4 separate regions of the Homo sapiens genome follow, and all the other regions are linked to region 1. Evidence: promoter capture Hi-C in 16 types of primary human blood cells and fetal thymus (Javierre and others, 2016). All regions are on one chromosome and are shown on one strand. Each heading gives the region's core, a stretch centred on a gene start or on the middle of the fragment in contact. The rest is flanking DNA. Distances are from core to core; before and after follow the strand shown. Region 1 holds the start of SSTR1 (somatostatin receptor 1). Region 2 has its middle 62 kb from the start of LINC00517. Region 3 has its middle 84 kb from the start of LINC00517. Region 4 overlaps LOC105370456 (a long non-coding RNA gene).

Evidence for each region. Contacts are between HindIII fragments. The CHiCAGO score rates a contact against its expected background, and 5 or more counts as called.
Region 2: a contact is called between a fragment that was not itself captured here and the fragment with the promoter of SSTR1 in region 1, in 5 of 17 cell types (naive CD8 T cells, neutrophils, total CD4 T cells and 2 more). The highest score is 8.9, in naive CD8 T cells.
Region 3: a fragment that was not itself captured here is called in contact with the fragment with the promoter of SSTR1 in region 1 in 7 of 17 cell types (neutrophils, naive CD4 T cells, naive CD8 T cells and 4 more); the score reaches 16.4 in neutrophils.
Region 4: a fragment that was not itself captured here is called in contact with the fragment with the promoter of SSTR1 in region 1 in 4 of 17 cell types (neutrophils, naive CD8 T cells, total CD8 T cells and 1 more); the score reaches 7.6 in neutrophils.

The regions. Positions count from the first base shown.
Region 1 is chr14:38,205,447-38,209,709 of GRCh38, forward strand. It overlaps SSTR1 (somatostatin receptor 1), which reads left to right and starts at 2,458. Exons shown (of 3, transcript NM_001049.3): 1 at 2,458-2,658; 2 at 2,997-3,163; 3 at 3,600-4,263. The coding sequence starts at 3,944. LOC124903303 (a long non-coding RNA gene) reads right to left here and starts at 3,841. Exons shown (of 2, transcript XR_007064117.1): 1 at 3,636-3,841; 2 at 1,769-2,830. RefSeq lists enhancers at 2,260-2,921, 3,905-4,263. The HindIII fragment of the contact is 9,392 bases long and covers 2,114-4,263 here.
Region 2 is chr14:37,961,834-37,966,096 of GRCh38, forward strand. No RefSeq gene overlaps it. Among named protein-coding and RNA genes, the nearest start is that of LINC00517, 62 kb to the left of the region's middle. The HindIII fragment of the contact is 2,787 bases long and covers 1,172-3,958 here.
Region 3 is chr14:37,983,894-37,988,156 of GRCh38, forward strand. No RefSeq gene overlaps it. Among named protein-coding and RNA genes, the nearest start is that of LINC00517, 84 kb to the left of the region's middle. The HindIII fragment of the contact is 5,574 bases long and covers 1-4,263 here.
Region 4 is chr14:38,003,827-38,008,089 of GRCh38, forward strand. All of the region lies in intron 3 of LOC105370456 (a long non-coding RNA gene), which reads right to left. Among named protein-coding and RNA genes, the nearest start is that of LINC00517, 100 kb to the left of the region's middle. RefSeq lists an enhancer at 600-1,136. The HindIII fragment of the contact is 1,477 bases long and covers 1,172-2,648 here.

The DNA.
Region 1 (4,263 bases), core at 1,208-3,707:
TTGTTTGTTTGTTTTTGTTGTTCATAGATTAGTTCACAAATACAATAATTAGAAATACATGACTGGGCTGAGCACGGTGGCTCACACGGGTAATACCAGCACTTTGTGAGGCTGAGACAGGAAAATTGCTTGAGCTAGGAATTCCACACCAGTCTGTGCAAGATAGGAAGACCCCATCTCTACAAAAACCTTAAAAATTAGCCAGGCATCGTGGGGCACACCTGTAGTCCCCAGCTACTCCAGAGGCTAAGGTGGGAGGATCACTTGAGCCTGAGACATCAAGGCTACAGTGAGCTGTGATTGTGCCACTACACTCCAGCCTGGGTGATAGAGCAAAACCCTGTCTCAAAATAATAATAATAATAATAATAATAATAATAATAATAATAATTTAAAAATAAATACATAACTGAAAAGATTTAATAATGCTGCATAGCTTATATCCATCTCAATCCCTCTCTTTGTCTTTCTCTCATGCTTTTTAAAATTGAAGTAAAACTCCCATAATATAAAATTTATAATTTTAGTCATTTTTGAAGTGTACAATTCAGGGATTTTTAGCATATTCACAATGTTATGCAATCATCACCACTATCTAATTCCAGAACATTTTCACCACTCAAAAAAGAAAGCTCATACCCATTAAGCAGTCCTTCCTCTTTCCCCTCTGCCCCCAGCCCCTGGCAACCACTAACGTACCTTGTCTGTATGTATTGCCTGCCCTGGGCATGTCATATAAATGGAATCATGCCACACGTGGCCTTTTGTGTCTGGCTTCTTTCCCTTTGCATAGTGTTTTCAAGCTTCGTCTACGCTGAAGCAGGTATTAGTACTTCATTTCTTTTTATGGTTGAATACTATTCCATTGTATGGATATACCACAATTTATTAATTCAGCAATTGATGGATATTTGGATTGTTTCTAATTTTTGGCTATTATGAATAGTGCTGCTATGAATGTTCATGCACAAGTTTTTGATTAAACACCTGTTTTCAATTTTGAGGAGTAAATAGAAGTGGAATTGCTGGCTCATATGGTCATTCTTTTAAACTTTTAAACTTTTTAAGCAATTGCCAAAATTTTTTTCTGAAGTTGCTGCATCATTTTTTATTCCCACCAGCAATGTATGAGTGTTCTAATTTCTCCACATTCTCACTAACGTTTATTTTTTGTTTTTAAAAATGTTCTTATAGCCATCCTAGTGGGTGAAAAGTGGCATCTCAAAAAAATAAAAATAAAAAGCATTCTCACGTCAGGTCTTAAGTTTTCTTCTTTTGTATATGAGGCCACAAAATTGAGAGAAATTTTCCCTAAGATGAGCTGAAAGTGAATTTAATGAAATTCTGAACAACAGAGCTGTTTTTCACTGACTCCCATCACACACTTCCCAAAGAGCAACCATGATCAAAGCCAAGGCATCTAAATAATGACTGTTGAAATCCAAGCTCCCAGAGGTACAGATAGTCAGGTGTCTTTAGTCAGTGATTGGCAGAGGCATCTAAGGCATTATATGAGGCTTGGCTAGTAAAATGCTCTTCTGGGATTCTGGGACAATACCCACTCTCTTTTCTTTTAACTTAATGAACATTTATTTTCTCTCCATATGTGCTGTATTTGTAAAGGAAAAATAAATATAACTAAACACCAATTGTACATTCCACTTTAAAGAAGGCAATTTGTTCAGGTAAAATAATGGGTTAAAACAGTTTCAGCCGTATGAAATTTCAAATTCCATCCTAGCACATTCCTCATTAATAATTGCACACATTCCTATGAAAGTCTGTCATTTATTTTAGTCTTTGATTGCTATCATCAACACACTACAGAAGTTATTCTTTCCTGTTCAAGACAATTAGTTTTGGGAACTAAAACACATGCAGTATATGTAAGTGATTACCTGGATAAAGCAACAGGGCATTAGGAAATATACTTTTTTGTTTTTAATTTCTGCATCCATTTCTTCATTCTGGACCGGTACAGATAGCCTCCATGAGGAGTTTAGCCTCTCCTTGGAGTAAACTCTACTGAGAGGAGGAAAACTGAGACTTACAGTACAGCGGGCACAGCCTGGTTGAGGAGAAGGAGAAACTAAGGAAAAACTGGAGACAGCAAAGCTTGAAGGAGGCAGAGCACTAAGCTGCTGCGGGTCACTCTTCCTGTGAACAGGCTAGTTTCAAATAAAGGCTTGCAGGGATCTTACCGAGCAAAGCAACGTTTATGAAAAGGAACAGGGAAGTTGCATGGAGTGTGATTCTTCCTTCCACAGGAACAGTTGGAAAGCCAAAGAGACCCTAGAGTAAGAATGGTGGTAAGTCCCAGGGTTCGTTTAAAATCCTGATAACGGAACATACATTCTTTCTTACGGGAAAACCGTTTTGATTCTTAAATGAAGTCAGTGAGCTTCAGGCTTGCCTACATTGATATCTCCTAATGGTTTGGGCACGTGACCCAGAGCCAGCTCACAAATCAAGCCTCAGAAAGAGCTGACATCCTAGCTCTTCCCGGAAAAACTCGAATGTCGCCCTGCCGTTCCTGGGGTTGGTGACAGGTCTGGTCATCGCACGGCGGCAGCTCCTCACCTGGATTTAGAAGAGCTGGCGTCCCCGCCCGCCCAAGCCTTTAAACTCTCGTCTGCCAGAACCCGCCAACTCTCCAGGGTACAAAGTACAGCAGGGACGCGGGTGGAGCCCTTCCAAGCGGCGCAGCCTTATCTTTCCCGAGTGAACACCTAGGTGGATTCCCAACACCGCGCCTGGCACGTTTCTGGAGGGAGTCTCAAGCTCCTCCAGAGCTCCCAGCTGCGCGTCCTCGTTTCTGCAGTCGATATTCCTGTGGGAGACACGGGGGGCTCTGAGCGCTACGAGCTTTATTAAGAGATTTGCGAATGGTTCACTCAGGTCCCTGAACACTCCCAATAGCCTAAGCTGCCTGCTGTGTTATAGCGCAGAAGCCCCTAACGCACGGTGGTTGTCCTTTCTTCTCATAACGCTCGCAGCTTAGGGCCAGTTTCCGCGATTCTAAGAGTAATTGCGTGGGCACCTGTGCTGGGGCCAGGCGCAAAGAAGGGAGTTGGTCTGCGCGAAGATCGTCAACCTGCTAACAGACCGCACATGCACTTTGCACCGACCATCTACGTCTCAGTCTGGAGGTTGCGCACTTTGGGTAAGGAGGGCCCGGAACTTCCCTGGCGGGTCTGAGCTGCAAGGCAAGCGAGGGTGGGAAGAGGGAATTTAGGGTTCTGGACTGCGGGACGGGAGAGAAGCTGGGGTCTCCAGAGAAAAGGGCAGCAATGGAGGGAAACTGAGATGAACTCCAGACATCCATGTTCATGGATCCGTTTGAGTCTTTGCTTTGGGTAGGAGAGGAGTGGAATGAGACAGAATCTATACCTTTGGTTCCCACCCGCCCTCCAGTAAGGCCGAGGAACTCTCTTGGTTCCTCTGAGAGCAAGAGGCAGATGGTGCTGCGAGGGAACCCCGGAAGGAGCCACTAAAGTTGAGCAGAGTGCAGGACTGGGAAGGAAAAAAATGGGGGGCGGGGGGGACAAGCCACCTATGTGCTCTCCTCCCTTTCTCCACCCCACCCCCTTTTTTCGTAGCTGCTGACGCGCTGGTGGTGCCTATTAATCATTTACCAGTCCAGAGCCGCGCCAGTTAATGGCTGTGCCGTGCGGTGCTCCCACATCCTGGCCTCTCCTCTCCACGGTCGCCTGTGCCCGGGCACCCCGGAGCTGCAAACTGCAGAGCCCAGGCAACCGCTGGGCTGTGCGCCCCGCCGGCGCCGGTAGGAGCCGCGCTCCCCGCAGCGGTTGCGCTCTACCCGGAGGCGCTGGGCGGCTGTGGGCTGCAGGCAAGCGGTCGGGTGGGGAGGGAGGGCGCAGGCGGCGGGTGCGCGAGGAGAAAGCCCCAGCCCTGGCAGCCCCACTGGCCCCCCTCAGCTGGGATGTTCCCCAATGGCACCGCCTCCTCTCCTTCCTCCTCTCCTAGCCCCAGCCCGGGCAGCTGCGGCGAAGGCGGCGGCAGCAGGGGCCCCGGGGCCGGCGCTGCGGACGGCATGGAGGAGCCAGGGCGAAATGCGTCCCAGAACGGGACCTTGAGCGAGGGCCAGGGCAGCGCCATCCTGATCTCTTTCATCTACTCCGTGGTGTGCCTGGTGGGGCTGTGTGGGAACTCTATGGTCATCTACGTGATCCTGCGCTATGCCAAGATGAAGACGGCCACCAACATCTACATCCTAAATCTGGCCATTGCTGATGAGCTGCT
Region 2 (4,263 bases), core at 1,315-3,814, 240 kb before region 1:
CACTGTGGAGTGAATGGCAAATTTCTCTCAGAAGTTTAGGTCAGTGGGTCTCAAATTTGGGTGCATAAGAATCAGTTGGTGTACCGGTTAAAAATGTAGATTTCTAGATCCTAGTCCCCAGTGATTTTTATTGAGAATATAGAGGGTGGGACCCAGGAAAACTGCAGTGTCAAGAAGCCCCCTTCTGATTCTGATCAGCTACCCTATGGTCCACACTGTAAAATATTGGGGACCCTGTCATGACTTAAATTTGTATGCTAATTGTATTAGTCCATTTTCACACTGCTATGAAGAACTACCTGAGGCTGGGTAATTTGTAAAGAAAAGAGGTTCAATTGACTCACAGTTCCACAGGTTGTACTGAAGGCATGGCCTGGGGGGCCTCAGGAAACTTATAGCAATGGTGGAAGGGAAAAGGGGAAGCAGGCACATAATCACATGGCAGCAGGAGAGAGAGAGAACAAAGCAGGAAGCGCTACACAGCTTAAACAACCAGATCTCATGAGAACTCACTCACTATCATGAGACAGCAAGGGGGAAATCTGCCCCCATGATCTAATCACCTCTAACCAGGTACCTCCCCCAACACTGGGAATTACAATTCGACATGAGATTTGGGGACATAGAACCAAACCATGTCACTAATATTTCTAGATTTCATTCTGAACAGTAATAACTTACTAAATACACTATTTCTTCTTAAAAACCTGAGGGTAGTAGCAGTAGTATTTTTTTCAAATCACAATAGATGAACATACTTGATTTAAAAGCAAAACATTATGCTTTTAATCAATAATAGGCTGACAGAAACTTGAATGAAGTTTCTACATGGAAGTCACATAATATATTGACAGCAAAACTACTAGACTGATGATACATTGTCTGTCCTATTGCCGGTCCTATCCCAGACTTCAGATATGACAAGTACCTTCCCTTGCACACTTACACAGACATCATTCATTGATAATACCATACTTTCCAGCTACATCAGATGCAACCTCAGAATTCTTCTCAGCAAAAACAGTCATTACCAAGTTATCAAAGCTGGTGTGGGTGTGCAATTGTATTTGACATAACTGTCCCATCCCAAACAAAAAGCACTCTTCTTTCCTTCTTTATTTTATTCTCTCCTTCCTTTCCTCTCTCCTTACCTCTCCTCCCCACCCTCCAAAGCTTTCGGAAACAAGTGGTCCATATAACTCATATTGAAGCAAAATGGAAGACCCTATTTTGTCCTAAATTAAATCAAACCAAGAGCAGGGCTTCCGGGATCTTAAAAGAAAGCATGAAACTCCACCTATTTTCTTAGAAAATTCTCCTGGTAATGGTACATTTGTTTCTAAACAGGCAACAGATGGTCGATATCTATCCATTTTTAAGAAGATAGTGATTTCAAACCACATCTTCAAGTTCATCAAAGTACCGAGGAATCAAGAATCCTACATTTCTTTTTGAGGTTTCAATTTTGAATAAGCCGACAAAATAAACACTCTAAATTATTTTAGGAAAACATCATGTGTCTCAATTTAATCATTTTTTATGCTTAGCCAAATTGTATTTTGTGTACTTTTCTCTAAAATCTATACTTTGTTAAGTTGTGATGGTTAGATCATGTTTTAAAGTAGAAAATAACATAATCTCATTTTAGGAAATGTAGGATACTCAGAAAAATATGTAAAAGAAAATGAGCACCACCTATAAAATCACTACCCAAAGATAACTACTATTAAGACTTTGGTACATTTTTATTCATTCTATTATCCATGTATCTTCATGTGAATGTGTCTTTTTCTTTGATTTTCCCACAATATCTAGGTCATTTGGGGCATACTGTTTCCATCTGTCTTTTTTTTTTAATTTTCTTTTCTCATCTTTTATTTTCTTTCTTGCTTTTTTTTTTTCTTTTAGACAAGGTCTCGCTCTCTCACCCAGGCTGGAGTAATCTTGAACTCCTTAGCTCAAGTGATCCTTCCACCTAACCTCCTAAAGCTCTAGGATTACATCTGGGAGCTACCATACCCAGCACATAAAATTAGGCCATGTAATTAAATTATCTTTTCAAAACATATGTTTTCAACTCTAAGCTCAGGGGCACATGTGCAGGTTTGTTGTATAGGTAAACTTGTGGGTTTGTTGTTGTACAGATTATTTCCTCACTCAAGTATTAAGCCTAGTAGCCATTAGTTAATTTTTCTGAACCTCTCCATCCTCCTACCATCCACCTTCTGATAAGCCCCAGTGTGTGTTTTTCCCCTCTATGTGTCCATGTGTGCTCATCATTTAGCTCTCATTTATAAGTGAGAATGTGTGGTATTTGGTTTCTGTTCCTGTGTTAGTTTCCTAAGGGTAATGGCTTCCAGCTCCATACATGTCGCTGCAAAGGATATGATCTCAATCTTTTTTATGGCTACATAGTATTCCATAGTATATATGTACCTTATTTTCTTTATCCAGTCTGTCATTGATGAGCATTTAGATTGATTCCATGTCTTTGCTATTGTGAATAGTGTTGTAATGAACATACATGTATATATGTCTTTAAAACAGAACAATTTATATTCCTTTGGATATATACCCAGTAATGGGATTGCTGGGTCAAATGGTATTTCTGCCATTTGGTCTTTGAGGAATCACTGAACTGTCTTCCACAGTGGTTGAACTAATTTGCATTACCAACAGTGTATATGCATTTCTTTTTCTCCACAACCTCTCCAGCATCTGTTATTTTTTGACTTTTTAATAATAGCCATTCTGACTGGTGTGAGATGGTATCTCTTGTGGTTTTGATTTACATTTCTCTAATGGTTAGTGATATTGAGCTTTTTTTCATATGGTTGTTGGCCTCCTGTATGTCTCCTTTTGAAAAGTGTCTATTCATGTCTTTTGCCCACTTTTTGATGGAGTTGTTTTTTCTTGTAAATTTGTTGAAGTTCCTTATAGATGCTGGATATTAAACTTTTGTTGGATGCATAGTTTGCAAAAATTTTCTCCCATTCTGTAGGTTGTCTGTTTACTCTGTTGATAGTTTCTTTTGCTGTGCAGAAGCTCTTTAGTTTAATTAGATCCCATTTGTCAATTTTTGCTTTTGATGCAATTGCTTTTGGCATCTTAGTCATGAAACTTTTGCCTGTACATATGTCCTGAATGGTATTGCCTAGGTTGTCTTCCAGGGTTTTTATAGTTTTTGGCTTTACATTTAAGTCTTTAATACATCTTGAGTTAACTTCTGTATGTGATGTAAGGAAAGAGTCCAGTTTTAATCATCTGCACATGGCTAGCCAGTTATCCAGTACCATTTATGAATAGGAAATCTTTTCCCCATTGCTTGTTTTTGTCAGGTTTGTCAAGGATCAGATAGTTGTAGGTGTGTAGTCTTACTTCTGGGTTTTCTATTTGGTTCCATTGGTCTATGTGTCTGTTTTTTACCAGTACCATGCTGTTTTTGTTACTGTAGCCCTGTAGTATAGTTTGAAGTTAGGTAGCATGATGCCTCCAGCCTTTTTTTTTTTTTTCCTTAGGATTTCCTTGGCTATTTGGGCTCTTTTCATTCTATATGAATTTTAAAATAGTTTTTTTCTAGTTCTGTGAAGAATGTAAATGTGAGTTTAATAGGAATAGCCTTCAATCTATAAAAAGCCATACTGCTTTGGGCAGTATGGTGATTTTAATGGTAGTGATTCTTCCTATCCATGAGCATGGAATGTTTTTTCATTTGTTTGTTGATCAAAATCTCTGATTTCTTTGATCAGTGGTTTGTAGTTCTCCTTGTAGAGATCTTTCACCTCCATAGTTAGCTGAATTTCTGGGTATGTAATTCTATTTTTGGCAATTGTAAATGGGAGTTTGTTCTTGATTTGGCTCTTAGCTTAACTATTGTTGTTTTATAAGAATGCTGGTGAATTTTGCACATTGCTTTTGTGTCCTGAGGCTTGATGAAGTTGTTTGTCAGCTTATAAGAAGCTTTTAGGCTCAGACTGTGGGGTTTTCTAGATATAGAATCATGTCATGTACTAACAAAGATAATTTGATTTCCTCTGTTCTTATTTAAGTACTCTTTATTTTTTTCTCTTGCCTGATTGCCCTGGCCAGAACTTCCAATACTAAGTTGAATAGGAGTGATGAGAAAGGGCATCCTTGTCCTGTGCCAGTTTTCAAGGGGGATGCTTCTAGTTTTTGCCCATTCAGTATGATGTTGGCTTTGGGTTTGTTATAGGTGGCTCTTATTATTTTGAGGTATGTTCCTTCAATACCTAGTTTATTGAG
Region 3 (4,263 bases), core at 445-2,944, 220 kb before region 1:
TAAAAAATTAGAAATAGAACTAACATATGATTCAGCAATCCCACTTCTGAGTATCTATCAAAGGAAATGAAATCAGTATGTCAAAGAACTTTCTATCTATCTGCACTTTCATGTTCACTGAAGCATTATTTATAGTAACCAAGATATGGATGATGAGTGGATAAAGAAAATGCAACACACACACACACACACACACACACACACACACACACACACGACTATACACATCATAAACCCTGGAATGATGTTCAGCCTAAAAAAATAAAGAAATTCTGCTATTTGTGACAACATGGATAAACCTGAAGGATGTTATACTAAGTGGAAGAAGCCAGGCACAGAAAGACAAATACTGCATAATCTCACTGATATTTGGAATCTAAAAAAAGCCAACTCATGGAAACAGAGTAGAATGGTGGTTACTCAGGGTTGAGGGGTGGGGAAATAGGGAGATATGGGTCAAATGGTATAAACTTCTAGTTGCAAGATCAATAAATTATAGACCAATAAATATAGATCAACTAAGATCAATAAATATACAGTAGAGTGACCATATTTAATAATATTGTATTGCATACCTGAAACATACTAAGAGAGTAGATCTAGAGAGTAGATCTTAAGTATTCTCACCACAAAAAATAAAGGTAACCATGTGAGGTGATGGTATGTTAATTAGTTTGATTGTCGAAATCATTTCATAAGTTATATGTATATCAAAACATCATGTTGTCCACCTTGAATATACACAATTTCTATTTGTCAGTTGTACTTCAATAAAGCTGAATTTATTTATTTATTTATTTAGTTAGTTAGTTATTGAGACAGAGTCTCGCTCTGTTGCCCAGGCTAGATTGCCGTGGTGAGATCTCAGCTCACTGCAATCTCTGCCTCCCAGGTTCAAGCAATTCTCCTGGCTCAGCCTCCTGAGTAGTTGGCATTACAGGCACATGCCACCACGCCTGGGTAATTTTTGTATTTTTAACAGAGATGGGGTTTCACCATGTTGGCCAGGCTGGGCTTGAACTCCTGACCTCAGGTGATCCACCTGCCTCGGCCTCCCAAAGTGCTGGGATTACAGGTGTGAGACACTGCTCCTGGCCTTGAATTCTTTTTAAAGATGTGGGAAAATTCCATCTACAAATTCTGAGTGTGCCTGGGCCTGAGGTTGTCATGAGGCACAGTCATTCTCAGAGATGCAGTCTTCGTCTTTCGAGCAACTCTGACTTTGTGTGACTGTAGAGGTTTTGGAAGTGACACTGCCCTTAATAGTCTTCATTCCTTTGTTGAGGACCTAAAATCACAGCTGTTAGTTACAGGCCATTAAAAGTGGGTACTATGTATGATATATTTGTTTGAATATATCTAGGATATATATTTTCAATTTTGGGATGATTTCTTTTGCATTCTTTAGTCTTTGAGAATTTTAAGGAACAAAGAATTTTAAAAGCACAGGTTGGCTTGATGTGCAAGCATACATACATATGTATATTCATATTAAGGGAAAATATGAATAACATTTAACTACTGGTATGACCCAGGCACTGACTAATTCAGAACCAAGAGAATGGATGCTAGCCATACACAATCTAGGTGGCAGAGCTGGCACCCCACAGGCTATTAGCCTTGTTTATTAGTAATATTTTGCTAGTCCAGAAAGAATTAAGTTTGTTTACAAAAATTCAAAAAGATAAAATAACTGTAAACATGAAAAGGTAGGCCGGGCATGGTGGCTCATGCCTGTAATCCCAGCACTTTGGGAGGCCGAAGCAGGAGAATCTTTTGAGCCCAGGAGTTTGAGACTAGACTGGGCAACGGAGTGAGACCTCATCTCTACAAAAATAAAAATTAAAAAAAATTAGCCAGGTGTGGTGGTGCATGCCTGTAGTCCCATCTACTTGGGAGGCTGAAGTGGGAGGCTCACTTGAGCCCAGGAGGTTGAGGATTCAGTCAACTGTGATCACGCCTCTGCATTCAAGCCTGGGAGACAGAGTGAGACCCTGTCTCAAAAAAAAAGTTTAAAAAATTTTGCCAAAGGAAAGTAGAAAATAGGAAAGGCAAGATGAAGCCAGTGGAGAAATGAACATTTAAAATACACCTTGCATGGTCTTAGGCACTTTTTAGGGACAGAAGGAAAAGGTGCTTCCCATCATGCTCCACCAGGGGGCACTGAACTTGTGACAGTTTATCCTTTTTTCGCTTTTGAAGTCACTCACATTCTCAATAATACACATGACCAGCTAGATGCTAACCATGCATTGGCTAAATTAATACCTTCAATCTTTAGAAAAACAGAGCATTTTTTTTAGTTGCCAACACAATATTTCCTGTATGCCTTTTCCCCAGAGGGCAGAGGGAAGAATAGATGAGAAACAGTTCCTCTGAACTGATAGAGCATGTGTGAGTTCAGCCTAATGTCATTATGTCAGATTGGATCTGAGTTACAGTGACCACTTAGACATCATGCAATTTGGTGATAAAAGAAAGGTCTGTTTTTCAGCTGTGGTCTCTTAACTAGCTACAAATGATCACCAGGCTGACTGCTTCATGTACTCTTTCTCTCATCATCCTACTACACAGATTTGCTTTGTGGAATTTTATTGACTCTATATTCTTTGAAGTACTTTGCTTGACATACTTGCTGAGGGGAAAATGTTCTAACAAGTGAATGAAGCCTTAGTAGCCTAATATTAGTACCTCTAAATCGACAGCTCTGAAGAATATATAAAAAATTAATGCACGAAGGACACTGCCTGGCATGTAAGTGCTATAAAAGTAATTGCTTCTATGCTGATCGAAAGAAGCAATTAGAAATACAGTCAGCCCTCCATCCTGGCTAATACGGTGAAACCCTGTCTCTACTAAAAATATAAAATATTAGCCAGGCATGGTGGCAGGCACCTGTAGTCCCAGCTACTTGGGAGGCCTCTGAGGCAGGAGAATCACTTGAACCCGGGAGGTGGAGGTTGCAGTGAGCTGAGATCGCGCTACTGCACTCCAGCTTGGGCGACAGAGCGACTCCATCTCAAAATAAATAAATAAATAAATAAATAAATAAATAAATAAATAAATACAGTCAGCCCTTCATATCCATGTGTTCTGCATTTGTGTGTTTACCTAACCACGGGCTGAAAATATTTGAGAAAAATATGCATCATACTGAACATGTATGGATTTTTTTCTTGTTATTATTTCCTAAACAATACAGTATAACTATTTACATAACATTTACATTGTACTAGGTATTATAAATAATCTAGAGATGATTTAAAGTATATGAGAGAATGTACGTAGGTTATATTGAAATACTATGCCATTTTATATCAGGGACTTGAACGTCTACAGATTTTGGTATCTGAGGGAGGTCGTGGAACCAATCCCCCATGGATATTAGGGATGACTGTACTTCCCATTCTCCAGATTAGTCCTCATATTCAAGCCTCAAATAATTAAAGAGATAGAATCACCTACAATTTCAGCAAAATCATTAAAGTTGTTTTTTGTTTTGAAAGAAATGTCAAAAAACAGCAAGACTTCAAGTCTGTTAACTGTTAGTGTTCCAAGTGGTTGAAATAAGAGGATTTATGGAGCCTTAGGGTTTCAGCCTGAAGCCAGAGATTAATGCCAAATGCTTTTCTTTAACTGATATTTTTCTTCAGGCAAAGTCATCCTTGAGGCTACTGGAAAGTCATGGCAATTGAAATACAGAAAGGTGTATATATGTAGGAGTCTCCCAAATAGAAGACTTCATGGTAAAATTTGGCAAATAATGACTTAAATCCTCTTGAGAACATCTGAGTGAAATTGATGCTTATAAGCCATTTTTAAAAATTAATAACGATAAATAATAGCAACAGCCAACATTTATTGAACACTCAATTTTGTGTCAGGTGCTGTTCTAAATACTTAAAATCTGTTGCATTATATAAACCTCACAATTACCTTACGAGGTAGGTAGAGGTTTTACAGGTGATGAAACTGAATATTTACAGAGAGGTTAAGTAATTTGCCAGAAGTCTAACATGCAGTGTGTGGTACAGCCAATTTCAAACCCAGACCATCTGACTCTATAACCCTTTATAATTTCTATACATCATGCCTTCATACACCCATACAGATGAAGACATATGAATCAAACAGCTCCCCACTTTGGCTTCTTGGCTGACTCAATGGCTCATGATAATTAGATGGTGTATGAAACCTACTTACTATAATCAGAATTGGTAGGTTAATCTAAGAAGTCCATGGGTGTGGAAGAATCATGATAAA
Region 4 (4,263 bases), core at 660-3,159, 200 kb before region 1:
GGGCAGAGTATATATGGATAAGGCAGGTGAACATGCTTTTAATTAGCCTGAAACACCAGCTGGCATAGATTTCACCTGCATCCAAGCAATCGTGTAAGGATAGGAGCTTAGGAGAGAGCTCATTGTTATTCCTGAGGCATTCCCGGGTCCTCGGCCTCTAAGAAAGCAGCACCTGCTATAAATCTCCGTGTTCTCTGATTTCTGCAATCTTTCAGCAAAGCCCTTCTGCTCTCCATTCTGGAGCAGTTTCACAGAATGTGTTTTTGAACTATCTGTCCCCAAGAAGTTTCAGGGCCTCAACCAGTCCACACAGCTTCAAGGGCAGCAGGGGCAGGTGCAGGAATGCTGGGCCCATCCTAGAGACTGATAGTGGAGGCTGTGCAAGCAGGTATAGCTGGCAGGCAGAACACAGAAGTCATGGAAAGGGAGAAAAAAGAGAGCAAGTTGTTTCTGAGGGCAAGGTGTGCGTGTGTGTGAGTGGGGTGGGGTGGGGTGTTGGAGGAAAAGGTTGGGGCAGAAAAAGTAAGCAGGAAAAGGAGGAACTGGCAAGCAGAGGGGACAGTCAACAAGGGTTTGTGAAGTGTGATGGGGAAAGGAATATAATTTCAATAGCAAACTTTACTGGGCTCTCCTATGGGACAGGCACTGCTTTAAGCACTATGAGGTACTATTATAATTCTCATTTTACAGAAGAGGAAGCAGAAAGACAGCAGGGTTAAACAATTTGGTTAATGTCACACGGTTAGTAATTTGTAGCACTAGGATTTAAACCCAGACGGTCTAATCCTACTGCCCAAGCTCATCAAACCCCCTGCTGCTAGGGTACTTATAAAGCAGAAGAGGATGAAAGAAACAAGGCTGAGGGTGAGCTGTTTAGAAGAGAGAGGAACTGAGAAGGTGGAGAGTTCTCCACCTGCTGGAATCACATCCTGGGTGAGGGCCACCTGAGACTGGAAACCAGAGGACCAAGGTGTCTGCTTTTGCTGCACCACTTGTTAATATGACTTTGAGCCTCAGTTTCCTTATCTGCAAAGTATGAGTGACAACCTGAGTAACTGCTTGTAAGGATGAAATGAAATAAGTTAGAACACACTTTGGGCATTCTCAGATGCTTTGTATGTGGTGGGACTCTAGATGCTGAGCTATGTTTCTCTTAACACATAAAGTAGGAAGCTTAATTTGATCATTGCACCTGCATTCACAGGAAGCCACTTTTCTTCTGTGATGCATTTTCCTGGCTAATGTTCCTATGTCTCTGCTGTTGGGCAGAGCTGTCATCTTCTTTATCTGGCTCTTGTGGCTCTGTTGATTTTTCCAAGTGTCTGAAAGAGCTGTACATTTTCTTACTTCACAGGATCAGTGATCCTAGCCTCCTGAGCCTGTATTATTGAACATCCTGTTACTTACTGCCACTGCTAAGTGGTATCAGTGGCAAAGTCACTGCTATGAACTCAACAGCCACTTGGACTCCTAAAGACCATATTTTTCCTATCTTGCCATAGCAAGATGATTTGCTCCAAGTCAAACAGAATTGATTTTTCAATTTTCTTTCCAGCGACTAATACCATCCCAGAGGTTACCAATCCTTGTTTTTACTGTCCCTCATGTTGTTTAAAGGATGCTTTCTAATTGGATGAAGTGGGAAGAGAAAGGGTGTGTGCAATTGGGAGGAGAGGAAGCAGGCAGTAATACCACCTTCTTCCCATCTCACCTTTACATAGGTCATCTCAACACATCACTGTCTCTACCCAGAACCAGTGTAGGGACAGCAGTGACATGGGCAAGGCTTAGTGCGCTTTGGCCTTCCCTTTTGGGGACCTGCTCAGCAATCCACTTCGCCTTCTTACCCTTGTTTCATTCTCTGCAGCTTGTTAATTCTTACTTAAACTGTCACTGCTGCTAATGGTGGTTGACTTTTAATAGAAAAATGTGAAAAAGAAAAGCCTTTAAGACTGCCCCCCCCTAAAATACATATTTCTGGAGATAGAATGTTCAGTTTTGGCACCAGAATTCCTTGTACCCCAAATTCCTGATTCTGGGCCTTTTCACTTTTGGCTCCTTCTGCTTTGCTTTTCCTCCTGATCGTCAACTGGCTCTATGCATTTCTTCATTCAGGTCTCTGCTCAAATGTCACCTCCCTAGAGAAGTTTTAAATTGCTTTTTTATGTAGTCATAATCCCCCGCCAACCCTGATCTTGCTTTATTTTTTTCATAATGCTTATCACTACTTGACACTATATTCTATATTTGTTAATTGTCTGTGTACCTCGAAAAGAATGTAATCTGTATGAACGTCAGGAGCGTCGTCTGTTTCAATTACTGCTGTGTTCGCTAAAGCAGGATCTTATTAGGGTCTATAAGATTTTTAAAATATATTCAAGTAAGTCATTGAAAAAAGTTTTTCTCATGCTTCCTAATCTTGTTAGATATGATATGCCTTCATTTTTCTGTTTGATATGTTTATGGCTTTAGCATTTTTTCTACATTTATTCATTGATTAATAAAAATCTTAACATTTATTAAGTTGCAGTGATTGGGCTGGTGCTGAGAATAAAAAGGTAACAGCACAGTCCCATTCTTCAAGATGCTCACAGTCAAGTGAAGAAGGCAGATGAGTAACAGACAAGTGCAATGGATGTGAGATGCGAAGCTTGGCAAGACAATACACATTCTGTAGCATCTCAGAATAAATGAGAATTAGCCAGAAGACCTGGGGGTATGGGGATGTCTTTCCAGGCAGAGACTAGTGTATGTTAAGGTCAAGAAGGTATAAGTGGCTGAGTGTGGTGGCTCACACCTGTAATCCCAGCACTTTGGGAGGCCAAGGCAGGCAGATCACCTGAGGTCAGGAGTTGGAGACCAACCTGGCCCACATGGTGAAACCCTGTCTCTACTAAAAAAATAAATAAATAAATAAATAAATAAATAAATAAATAAATAAATAAATAAATTAGCGAGTATGGTGGCAGGTGCCCCTAATCCCAACTGCTCTGGAGGCTGAGGCAGGAGAATCACTTAAACCCGGTAGGGGGAGGTTGCAGTGAGCCAAGATTGTGCCATTGGACTCCAGCCTGGGCGAAAAGAGTGAGACTCTGTCTCAATAAAAAAGAAGAAGAAGAAGAATTAAAAAAAAAAGAAGGTGTAAGCATTCATGGCAAATCCTTTGAGGTGAAGGCAGTTCAAAAAGCCCATCCTAAAGGACATGAACAAATATTGAGTGAGAAATCTGAAGATAAGTGAGGTGAGGTGGGAAATTATAAGAAGTAATGAATGCCATTTCAAAGAGTTTGAACTTCTTTAAAGACACCAAAGGATTTTAAATAAGGGAAAAATATAATTAGATATGTGTTGATTTACCCTGCTGCTTCCTCAAGGATTTTCTTTTACACCCAGAATTGGCATTGGCCACAATAGGTGAGCTGTGTAGCTATGGGAAAAAATTTTATTTATTTACATTAAATATGACTGCAGTCAGCAACAAAAAGATAAAAAGGATCTAAAGTATACAAACAGTATTCTGGTTAGCATACTTATTTTTTAAACCTTTTTAAATAGAAAATTTTAAGCATAAACCAAATAAGCAAATTGTATAATTAGCCTTCATCTGTCCATCATTCAGATTCAGCAATTGTCAATATTCTATGATTCTTGTTTCATCTGAACCCCTACTCATTTATCGCTGTTACCCTACCTCAATTATCACTGTTACAGTTCTAACAGCTCTTTTAAATATACAGTTTATATATGTCTATTGAAGTGCACCAATCCTAGCTGTAGGATTTTGACTCCTGCCCATGCCTCTGCTCAGGGCAGGATTGATTGACAGCCATCTAAGAACCAATAATGGGACACTGGAGCCCTGTAGAAGAAGCTGAGGGTTGAGGTAGAACAAAGCAGGAGGGGCAGAGGAGGGTAGAGACTGTCATAAGCAAACTGTACACTTTCCTATGCTTTCTTTTTTGATCTCACTCCCACTGAAACTTCCAGGCCTTTGGTCCTCTTATGCCAATGACAAGTCATGTGGGAAGGATGAAATTAGTTCATATCATAGGGTGCTATTTCTTTCTAAACTCTATGGCATTTTCTTTAAATCAACTTTATTGAGGCGTAATTTAGATACAAAAAGCACATCCACTTTAAATGAGCAGTTCAATAAGTATTGACAAATTTATGTATACCTGTGAACCACCACCACAACCAAGATTTAAGGCATTTCCATCTCCTCAGACAGGTTCCCTGTGCCCCTTCCCAGTCCTATGCCTC